3 separate regions of the Homo sapiens genome follow, and all the other regions are linked to region 3. The links are contacts of gene promoters, found by promoter capture Hi-C in blood cells and fetal thymus (Javierre and others, 2016). All regions are on one chromosome and are shown on one strand. Each heading gives the region's core, a stretch centred on a gene start or on the middle of the fragment in contact. The rest is flanking DNA. Distances are from core to core; before and after follow the strand shown.

Evidence for each region. The method cuts DNA at HindIII sites, captures the fragments that hold promoters and counts their contacts. A CHiCAGO score of 5 or more calls a contact.
Region 1: a fragment that was not itself captured here is called in contact with the fragment with the promoter of VRK1 in region 3 in 1 of 17 cell types (erythroblasts); the score reaches 5.3 in erythroblasts.
Region 2: a contact is called between a fragment that was not itself captured here and the fragment with the promoter of VRK1 in region 3, in 1 of 17 cell types (erythroblasts). The highest score is 5.9, in erythroblasts.

Annotation. Positions count from the first base shown.
Region 1 is chr14:97,076,579-97,080,386 of GRCh38, reverse strand. No RefSeq gene overlaps it. Among named protein-coding and RNA genes, the nearest start is that of LINC02304, 76 kb to the left of the region's middle. The HindIII fragment of the contact is 5,230 bases long and covers 1-3,808 here.
Region 2 is chr14:96,530,608-96,534,542 of GRCh38, reverse strand. It overlaps PAPOLA (poly(A) polymerase alpha), which reads right to left. Exons shown (of 22, transcript NM_032632.5): 7 at 2,957-3,068; 8 at 2,123-2,212; 9 at 1,894-2,032; 10 at 1-52. Among named protein-coding and RNA genes, the nearest start is that of PAPOLA, 30 kb to the right of the region's middle. The HindIII fragment of the contact is 1,435 bases long and covers 1,444-2,878 here.
Region 3 is chr14:96,795,094-96,798,708 of GRCh38, reverse strand. VRK1 (VRK serine/threonine kinase 1) reads right to left here and starts at 1,327. Exons shown (of 13, transcript NM_003384.3): 1 at 1,262-1,327. RefSeq lists an enhancer at 470-1,001 and silencers at 946-1,235, 1,246-1,445. The HindIII fragment of the contact is 2,825 bases long and covers 1-2,320 here.

The DNA.
Region 1 (3,808 bases), core at 1,096-3,595, 280 kb before region 3:
AGCCCAATCAACTTGTCTGGCACTGGCTACCTGTAATGATCTCATTTATTAATATAGTTTGACATCCTTTGCTCAGTTTTGGACACTGCTTCAAAAAATGTTTGCCATCCCTGCCATGGGTTAGGATAATCTCAGCTACAAGTAACAGCAAGTTCAAATTCAAACTGGCTTCAACAATGAGATGATTGATTAGCCCCTAACCGTGGAGGACCAGAGGCAGGGCAGGTTCCAGGCAACATATGTTAGAAGATCTGCTTTGCTGCTTCAAGGGTCCCCCTGCTTGGCCCTTTTCCATGTGTGTGCTTCTTCCTCGGGAAGGAAGGAATCAGAATGCAGCAGTTGTAGGGATTTCTCCAAAGAAGCAATGGGCCCATCTCCTGAAGTGTGAGACAGCCTCTCTTATAAGCTCCAGCTGTCATCACCTCCAGACACATTGGCCAGGGATGGGCTACATACACATTGCTGGGTTACATCCCCACTCTTAAACCATCACTGGCAGGGTGGGGGGATGACCATGGACGCTGTAGGAGAAACTTGGTAGATGTTTTCTAATCCATTACCCCCTCCAGGAGAAAAGAGTCGTTTTCAGAACCCAGGAAGACTGCCTTTCCCAGCCTCTGTTACAATTCAGTTGGGGCCATGTAACCAGCTTCGATAAATAGAATGTGAGAAAGTGATGCCCCTTCCAGGCCTGTCCATAAAATGTCTTGTGTGGTCCTCCACACTCACTTTCATCAGCAGCCAAAGGCAGAGGACTCACAGCACAGCAGAGAAGTAGAGATTAAAAGATGCCTTAAAAGATGACAGCACAGTAGAGAAGTAGAGATCTGAATTCCTAAATCGCTTCATAAGAGGCCAAATGCTGGTCTAGGCACATAAAGGTATTGTGTCAAGCCACTCAAATTTTAGGGTTATTTGTTCCTGCAGCTAGCACTAATTGCCCTAACTAATCCAGGTGGCTTCAACTAATCAGCGGGGGTGGAAAAGAAGTCTGGGAGTCAGCCATAAAAACCGCTCTGTAACAAATCATGTGCTTCATGCATGGTAGAGAGGCCCCATGTTCAGGGTCTCCCATGGCCAGGGAGATGGAAGAAAGATATTAGCGAGCTGCTTTGAAAGTTCAACAAGTTTAATAATTATAGGACAGCTTTAGAGACTACCTTTAGTCTCTGTGTGATCTTGGGCAAGTCACTCCCAAACTGGGGGCCTCAGTTTCTCCAGGAGAACATGGTATCTTTACTCTCTCCAGGCTCTGAGACCCAGTGGGTCAGGGCAGCTCAAGGGGTTGAACTGCACTTACCTTGGGTTTGGTGCTGTTGAAGCAACACATAGTGTGGCCTGGAAAAGGGTCATTTTCAGAACTAAGGCCAGGGCACCCACTCTGGAGAATCTGCACCAAGAAGCTCCAGGCCACCCAGCAACCTTGGGACAGTTACATCTGTGCATGTTGATCCCCAGGGCGGGCTCTTTTCTCACTGAAACCATTACTCCAGTGTATTTGACGTAATTCCTACAAAACATGATTTTTATAACTCTGATCAGGGAGCCAATTAATATAACTATTATTTATTGTGACTGCCTAGGCATAAAAACCACACAAATCAAACTGATTCCCCAAATCCACTTGGATCTCCACATTGTTAAGTCACATCCATTACACTGCTTTATAGTCGCATTTGTATTTTTTATTATTAATGCTATCAATACAATATTTATTCACCATGAAATAGCCTTCCACTTGGGAGGGAAATATGTGTACTTGTAAGTGCTCCTAATCATATCAAGCTCTGCACACGCTGGCTGGCGGATTGATGATGACTGGAACACATATTTTTTGAATAACAATAATGATCGCCAGTTATTGAAGTCCTACTAAGCACCAGGCTATGCCTTACATTCATTATCTCTTTAACCTTATCAATAATTATATCTTTCTCAACTTCATTTTACAGAAGGACACACTGAGGCTCAAGAAGGTGATGTAACTTCCCAAACATCCCACAAATAGTCAGTAAGGAACTGAGTCTTTGATCCAAGGACTCCCTGTTTTCACACAATTGCCCAAGTGCCTTCTAGGATCTATGGGGGGAAAGGCCAAAGCCAAGCATTCAAGATTGAAACCAAAACAACACACAAACATATCGCTCACTCTAATTGCGTCTCTTTCCTCATGTATTCTTCACCCAGAAATTGCCATCGTATCCATTTCAGTTTCATGCGAACTAACGCAGGCATCTGGATCACAAAGGCAGTGCGGCAAACTCACCTATGCTCTGCACATTTTGGAGAACATCCCCCTCAGTGATCTCAGGCCACATTTGATGACACCAGCACAGGTTACTAAAAAAGTGTCTTTCTCCCTTCCAGGCAGCAATAAAGGCAGCGTGCGCCATGTTGCTCTGCAAGTTCCCAAGAATTAGTAACATTTGAACAGACAATTTCTTGGTATCACTCCACTTCACCTCTCCCCACACCTCAGCCCTGCCCACCGCCAACCTCTCCGGCCAAACCCACCTCCAGGCAGCACAAATATTATTGACAATGCTAGGTGACAGCAGGAAACAAAACATACACCAATGATGAGGGTTGCCAGATAATGTACAAGATGCCCAGTTAGATTTGAATTTCAGATAAACAAGCATGTTTTTAGCATAACCATGTCCCCAAGAAGTATGATGGGAATTCACATTTAACCAAGCACCCTGTATTTTTATTTGCTCAATCTGGCAATCGTATCAACTACGTTAGAGAGAAAACTTCTACTTTCTCGGCTAAAGCTCCTTTTTTCTCTTGGCCCCTTTCCAGACCACTGCCAGGCCTCAAAGGAAGGGAAGTGGCTAATGTGCTGAGTCAGACCTCAGGACGCCCCTGGTCTGAGCTTCATCAGCCGGTAGAGTTTCTCTGTCGTCATGGCCAGTGTGCAAGCACACGCTTCCCTCCGGCGCTTCCACTTGTCAGGCACTAAGCAGACCAAAGCTGGACCTGCTGGTTTTTTTTAACCTGTTCCAACTCTGCTCTCCTGCACCTGGGTGGGGGACACAGGCAGGCCATCCCCTGCTCACACAGCCATCTTAGACTTAGGAGGGGTCATGGGAAACAAAGGTTTGGAGCCTCCCCTGCAGAGTCCAGCTGCTCTATCAGAGGGCCCGGCACCGGCGATGTCGCAGGACCTGTCATTTGGGTTAGGCACCTGTGGAGAAGGATCAATCCCTCCTCCAAAAACCTCCTCGAGGAGAAGAAATGAGGAATGAACCAGGCCTGAGCTCCGCTGAGCCCTGCTGTCCAGTGACCTGCAAAGGGGCAGCTCTCTGCCCAGAAACCGCAACACACAGGGCCAACCGCTACAGAACCTCAAACAGCCTGATACAGAGCAACATGCACAGGGCTCTGGGTTTCTCTGGAGAGTGGATCATGTGGACAAGATCAATAATCAATGCTTACTGGGGCCAATAGTTAGTGGGGCTGATATAACAAACCCATAAATAACTCTCCTCTGTTCTCTTCCTGAAACCCAACCCGGACCAGCACCAACCAGCTCTTTTCACGCTAGTGAACTGGTTATTCCTACAGATGAGTCCATTGGCATAAGGTCACTGATTTCCTTAAAGAGCATGTGCCCTTGCCATTATTTTCAGTGAGGGACCAATGAGCGGGCTACTTGAAATCTGACCCCAGACTTCAGATGGCCAGGGGCTTACAGGCACAGATCAACGTACAGCAACATTCTTTTTTTTTTTTTTTTTTTTTTGAAACAGAGCCTCGCTCTGTTGCCCAGGCTGGAGTGCAGTGGCTCTATCTCCGCTCACTG
Region 2 (3,935 bases), core at 912-3,411, 260 kb after region 3:
ATTAAGATTGCATTCTTCAGGCTGTTTCAATAGCACTGGATTTGGCCATTCCCTGTTTAAAAAGATTGTAGCACTTGATAAGACTATTGGATATTACCATCTAAACGTATTTTGTTAAACATACAGCATTTGTGAACGTGATCCTTCTTCATTCTGCCTTCTTGGTACATACAACGTTTTAATCCTTTCTGACGACATTAGACTACTCAAAATCTTTTTCTCCTAACTATGAAATGAACTTAAACCATTTGGTAGCCTTCTCAGACTGAAACCAAAAACGTTCTCTGCCACTCAAAGAACTTTAAAGGACTATTTAAATAAAGAAGTACCATCCCAAGATAATGATGTGTCCACTTCAACCTTGAACAGAATAAATCTCCACTGAAAGACAAAATTCCTGCCTTTATACTAGTTCCATCCAAAGTCAAGTGATAATTTTAAAAGTTACTTCTGATCACAGGCAAAGGGGTATGAATAATTATAGAATTCATGACTTAAAAGTGGTAAGACAAGTGTAGTAGTAAAACTTGGTGGCATAACCACATTTTCATATGTGTTCCATAAACTAGCTACTTTGGTCCCATATGAAAGAGGTAAAAACTGGAGAACACCTGCCACTCTTAACATCAAGGTTAGCTTCTTAAAAACATTATTTGCTTATATATGTGTAGCATTAAAAGAAATTCTGACAGCCGGACGCGGTGGCTCACGCCTGTAATCCCAGCACTATGGGAGGCCGAGGCGGGCGGATTATGAGGTCAGGAGATCGAGACCATCCTGGCTAACACAGTGAAACCTCGTCTCTACTAAAAATACAAAAATTAGCCAGGCGTGGTGGCAGGCGCTTGTAGTCCCAGCTACTCAGGAGACTAAGGCAGGAGAATAGCATGAATCCAGGAGGCAGAGCTTGCAGTGAGCCAAGATCGTGCCACTGCACTCCAGCCTGGGTGACAGAGTGAGACTCCGTCTCAAACAAAAAAAAAAAAAAAAAAAAAAGAAATTCTGACATTCTTTAATCTTATCACACCTGATTATAAGTGCTACTAAATCCCAAAACAGCCAGAATGTGTACTGAAAAGTGTGGCATGGTTCTAAATTTTTTTTATTTTTCCTCCAGTTGAACACAGCTCTAAATTGTCTCAAATAACTAATTTTTATAAAATTACTAGAAAAGAACATCTCTTTTGCAGAGGGAGGAGCAGGAGTTCATAAGAACAGGAATGGACGATTTATCTTAATTTGATTAAAAACCAAGAACCCTCACCTTTTGGGCCAAGGCAATTAATATAAAATGGCAGTAATCTTTTATTCTACTTTTTCTTAAATCATAGTTGACATATGTGGAAATGAAACGAAGAAACTTAAAAAAATCTGGGTTAATGACTAATCTCAAATTCCTTTTTTGTCCCGAAGCACTTAATGTTAATTTATTCTTTAAAAGCTTCTTATGAAAATTCGTATCTTTAATATTAGGCCAAATAAATGCTGAAAGCAAAAAGAAAAAAAAAACAATCACAAGAAACTAATGGCCTATAGATAGAGAATTAAAAGAGTGAAAGAGGTAGTGTGTACAAGTTTTATCCAAAAGTATAGTAACTGATTTCCCAACCTATCAATAAATTGGATCTTAGCTGCTAAAATTCAGAGTTTATTCAGAGGGTAAGTTTATGCAAGGAAGTACAAATAGAATCTGCCTTACTATCCTGGCCAAACTAGGGAAAAAAAATAGTTTCAGTTTGCCATTTTATACACAATGTGATCTCCAAGGCTGCCTACATGACTACATCATGAACTAAAATTTGAATCTGAAACCAAGCTGAGAAATGTCATAGAAATAAGACTAAACTTCAGTGTCTACAATCAATTTTATTTTAATATAATCTAAACACATACCATTTAGAAAATACCAAGAAAAATTTATGTACAAGAGTTGATGCTATTGCATTTGGATAAAGCTGGCAAGTTCTTGCTACTAGCATAGCCCAGGAAACACCACCGAGGAAACCTAATATATTGGAATAGATGTTGTGGCCTGTTGATAAGGGAAAAGCAAAAAGATAAGTTAGTGTTGAACAAAAGTTTGAACATTTTTAATAAGCTAGCCAACAAATTCTGAACTCACGTTTGGCCCATAGTTTGATAGCTCTCAGAGTTAACCTGAAGTTGTCAATGTTTGGTACTAGATGTAAAATTTCATCGGTTACCCTGCAACCTAATTAATAGGGGTAAAAAAAAACACACACACACACACACACACAAAACAAAACAAAACAAAAAAAAACAACATTAAATCATCAAAAGTTTAATGGTAATGCTTCCAAATTTTCTGAGATTGAAGTTAAAAGTAAACATAAATTTTTATTTGGTAGAACCAGTAAAGCTAATTCAATAAAGAGGGGGAAAAAATCTAAAGCATTTATCTCCTATTGTAAGCACTGACCAAAGAAACCAAAGTAAACTGTAACCTGCCCCAATTTGAACTTCAGATTCACAATTAAAACTTCCCACATATACTGCGGAAGACTTAATCCACTAAAGTTTCCAAGAACTGCTCTTCAAGAGCACAGTAACAAGCTATGCTAATATAAAATTGTACCAAAGTAGTCCTTCTGATCTCAGCAATGCTGAAAGCATTACTAAAGAATAACAGGATCAAAATTAATTTGGGTTAGGCCATGAAACCTAAATCACTAGCAACAGAGTACAAAAGTCAGATGGTCTTTTTAAGTGTCCTGAGTATACCATTAATGACAGAAGAAATACAGTGTATAAAATACTGTAGAGTGAAATAAACTACTACATACTCTTCTGTAGTTTATTAGGCAAAGTTCATTTTATTTAACTCACTACTGTGTTAACAATATAGCTATAAAAAGCTTCAATACAAAACTTGTGTAAAAACAACTAATATCTGACAAAAACTGAAGTACACAAAAGGAAGTAGGCTTTCTCATACCGTTAAGACTTCTTATACATCTTATATCTAAATTTTTTAGCAGACTGTCATCTCGTAGATCCAAATCTTCAGGAATTGTCTGCAGTGCTAATCTTGCAAACAAAATATCAATCTGAAACACAAACAAAACAACATTCCATATCTGTCAAACTACTTTTAAGGCATTTCTATGAAAAAACAAACAAACAAAAAATCCCAGCACTCTGGGAGGCTGAGGCAGGTGGAACACTTGAGCAAGACCAGCCTGGGCAACATGGCGAAACCCTGTCTCTATAAAAAAAATACAGGTCTGGCACAGTGGCTCGCACCTGTAATCCCAGCACTTTGGGAGGCCTGGGCAGGCGGATCACGAGGTCAGGAGATCGAGACCATCCTGGCTAACACGGTGAACCCCGTCTCTATTAAAAATACAAAAAAATTAGCCGGGCATGGTGGTGGGCACCTGTAGTCCCAGTTACTGGGGAGGCTGAGGCAGGAGAATGGTGTGAACCCAGGAGGCAGAACTGCAGTGAGCCGAGACCGCACCACTGCACTACAGCCTGGGTGACAGAGCAACACTCCGTCTCAAAAACAAAAACTACAAAAAAATTAGCCAGGTGTAGTGGCACACACCTGTGGTCTCAGCTATGGACCTCCCATGCACCTGTGGGAGGCTGAGGCAGAAAAATCATTTGAGCCTGGAAGGCGGAGGTTGCGGTAAGTCAAAACCATGCCACCGCACTCCAGCCTGGGTGACAGGAGTAAAACCCTGACTCAAAACAGCAAAACAAAAACCTAATTTTCCTTAAAGCCAGGATCCTTTCATTATCTATGAACACGACAATGTCCCTCCAAAAGTCCAAACTATATTATTTCGTATCATAGGTATTTTAATTAGATAATTTTAAAACATGGCAATATAGGCTGGGGGTAGTGGCTCCCGCCGGTAGTCCCAGCACTTTGGGAGCCAAGGCAGGAAGACTGCTTGAGGCTGTCTTCG
Region 3 (3,615 bases), core at 78-2,577:
AAGTATCATGCTCAGCATGTCATAAAGAAAGGTGCCTTTATTGTCAACTCTTGAAAATAAATGCTGCCCTACTTTTTTTTACTCTTGAATTTCAGTCTCAACAGATGGGCAATTCCAGTTTAAAAAAAAAGAAGAAGAAAAGAAAAACACACACACAATAATTAATGAAGTTCTTCAACAGTTCCCTAAAACCAACATCCTCCCAATAGCAAATTGTATTTCCAAGTTGTTCCAAGAAAGGGACACAGGAAAGGGAAGGGAAGAGTCTATACAAAGGAAAACAAAAATGAGTGACTTGAAAGAAAGGACATCAGAAAAATGGGTGGCCTCAACAGGAACCTATAGTGTCTGACTCTGCTGCTGTCTGTCGAATTTAATTCTACCACCTAAGAGTTTTGAGACGAGAACCACAATACTATTTCGGTGGTAGGAAAAACTATGCGTTGCCCCTGAATGGAGCTGCAACAGTAAAGGATGCCACCCTGCCAGGTAAGGACAGAATGAGGAGGAACTGTCAAACGGTTATGAAAGTCCCTTGCAAAACACACAAGCGGCTCTAACTGCCTTGCACCAGACAGACCCTCAAGTACAGGATCACGGGGCCTCCCCGCGATGTGACAGGGAAATAACGGGCGGCCTCGCGGTCCCCAGGCCTGGCTGCTATCCTCAGGGGTCGGCCTCCCCTCTCAGGTCTCAAGTCAAAGGTCACATCCTCTGAGATGCCCTCCCGGATCACCTAACCTAAAGAGCCTCGCCCCCATTCCTCTAGCCCGCAACTGCCTGTCCCGTTTCTAAGAAAGCATTTCCGTATCCGCAAAACATCGCAGCTGCGTGTGTTGTTTCCCTTCTACAGAGTGAGCTCTGCGGGGCAGGGGCCTCGCCTGCGCTGTTCACCCGGAGCCCCGCCTGACAGAACCGGCTTCCCGGTGAGGCCCGAGGCGGCGTTTGCGAGCTCGGCCGCGACACCACGCGCGTCCAGAACGTGGAGCTCAGATGGGGGCCGGCCTGGCCAGTCCAGGCATCCCCGGGGGCGCCTGCGGGGCCTGAACGAGACAAGGAAGGAGCGGACGCCCGCGCAGGCGGAAGCCACGCGGCGGAGCGCGGTCCCGCGGGGCGACCGAGGCTGACGGCGACTCCCGCACCCCGGTGGACCCACAGGCCGCCCGGAAGGCCCAGTGCCGGCCCCAGCCCCGGCCGCCCGCCTCCGCGCCCCCGGCTCGGCGCGCGAGTCCTCGAGCCGTGTCGCCTGCGGCCTCCCTACCCTAAGCCGCAGACCCGTCGCGTTCTGCCCAGTACGAACTTCCCGCCGCTTTCGCCGACTCGTAACTCGGCAGCGGCGCCGGCCCCTTCGCACCCTGCAGTATGGAGCCTTCCCATTGGCTCGGAGGCGACGAGGAGGGGCGGGACGAGTGGTAACGCGAGGCGCGGGGCGGAGGCTACGCTAGCCCCGCGCCTCCCCGGGAATGCCGGGAGCTGTGGTCCAGCGCTCCCAAGGCATCCTGGGAGTTGGAGTCTCTTAGCGGCAAAGGGAGATCCCCGTCCTTCTGCTCCCTGGTCTTCTAGGAAATGTGGTTTACAGCCTTGTTCGTAGTAGCTTGATTTATTAAGTGTATTGGCAGAGAGTTGGGTGTAAAATAAGTTTCCTGTTTCTGTTAGGATTAAATGAAATAATCTATAGGCAGTACTTTAAACTTAGTTGGTGCTCAATAAATAGCAGATAGTGTTAGTATTATTCTGCCCACTCATTGATATGTGTCTAAATCCTACCTGTTTTTCGAAGCCTATTTCAAAGCATATCTCAATGTCTACCTAATCATCTATAGTGTTTCATCTGTAATCAACGTATGCCACAGTTTGCATTGTGTTTATTATTTATTTTTATTTATTTATTTTTTTGAGACGGAGTCTCACTCTGTCGCCCAGGCTGGAGTACAGTGGCACAGTCTCGGCTCACTGCAAGCTCCGTCTCCCGGGTTCACGCCATTCTCCTGCCTCAGCCTCCCGAGTAGCTGGGACTACAGGCGCTCGCCATCACGCCCAGCTAATTTTTTTCTGTTTTTAGTAGAGACGGGGTTTCACCGTGTTAGCCAGGATGGTCTCGATCTCCTGACCTTGTGATCCGCCCGCCTTGGCCTCGCCAAGTGCTGGGATTACAGGCGTGAGCCACCGCGCCCGGCCGCATTGTGTTTATTATAATCAGCTAAGTCTCCATCACCCATGAGGCTGAGAGCTTATTGGGCACTGGGTCATTGTTCTAGGTCAAAATCACTGAAGTCACAGGCAGAGGGAGATTAACAATGAAGCCAATGAAGCGTAAGCTTCAGGACCTCACTTGCGCAGGTCCCTCAATGAGTTTACATAGCTTTGGGGGTTTATTTGTCGATTTTACTTTTCTTTTTCTTTTTTTTAAAGATATAGTCTCACTTTGTCACCCAGGCTGCAATGCATTGGCGCGATCTCGGTTCACTGCAGCCACGACCTCCTGGGCTCAAGCAATCCTCCCACCTCAACCCTCCGAGTAGCTGGGATTACACGCACAGGCCACCACTTCTGGCTAATTTTTGTATTTTTTGTAGAGACAGGGTTTGACCATGTTGCCCAGGCTGGTCTTGAACTCCTGAGCTCAAACAATCCACCCCGCCTCAGCCTCCCAAAGTGCTAGAATTACAGGCATGAGCCACCACACCCAGCTGATTTTTCTTAAAGTAGATCCCCCAAAATTATGTGAGCTTCAGTCCCTACAAAACCTGGAATCACTCTGTCCATTAGACAGGGCAATATTGTGCCTGATGTCTTACATTTTCCCCTCCAGATACCCTCATCTGCTCCAAATACTTCTCCTGCCTGCCCTCTGCCCCAGGAGGCTGACCTCTACAAATTACTTCGCGCTCCCTGTGCCCCCTGGCTTTGGGGCGTGCCCAGTGGAGAACCCCACAGAAGATTGGAGGAAAAAGAAAGGTTGGTTAGAGTAGGTTAAGCCCCTGGATCCTGACTGGCAAGGTCACCTCCAGTTGGCAGGTCCCTCAGCTGAAGGTCACTGCTCCCTGGCCCTCCCTCCAGTTTGCGGTAGTAGCCCTTCCCTTTGTGCCTCAGGTCTGGAAGTGATGACATCACGGCTGCTGCTGACCCACAAGTTACTGCATCCTCCCTCGTGGTTCCTACCCCCAACACCGTTGTAAATAGTCTCATTGCAAATAACCTTCCTCAAATTACCCTATTTGGAATTATGTCATCTGCTTCCTGTTGAGACCCTAACAGAGCATGGGCAAGGTGAGCACTCGATAAAATCTGTCAGCAAAAAAGTCTCAAGATTCACACATCTCATGGGTGTGGAATCCCCCAGCAAGACTCTGTGGCCAGAATCCACTGAGAGAAAGACACACACACCCACACCCACACCCACACAAATACACACATATGTTAAGAAAACTTGGAACAGGACTTATCTGTCATAGTGTGACCATGTTCCCCTAACCTCACAATAGACACGTGAAGAAACATCCCTGTTTCCACACTGGGTTGACAATTGACTGACTTTAAAGCACAATTAAATCAGCAACAGTGTAAGGTAAGAATGGAATGTATTTATTCTGGAGCTCTTGGCCCTGGCACCCT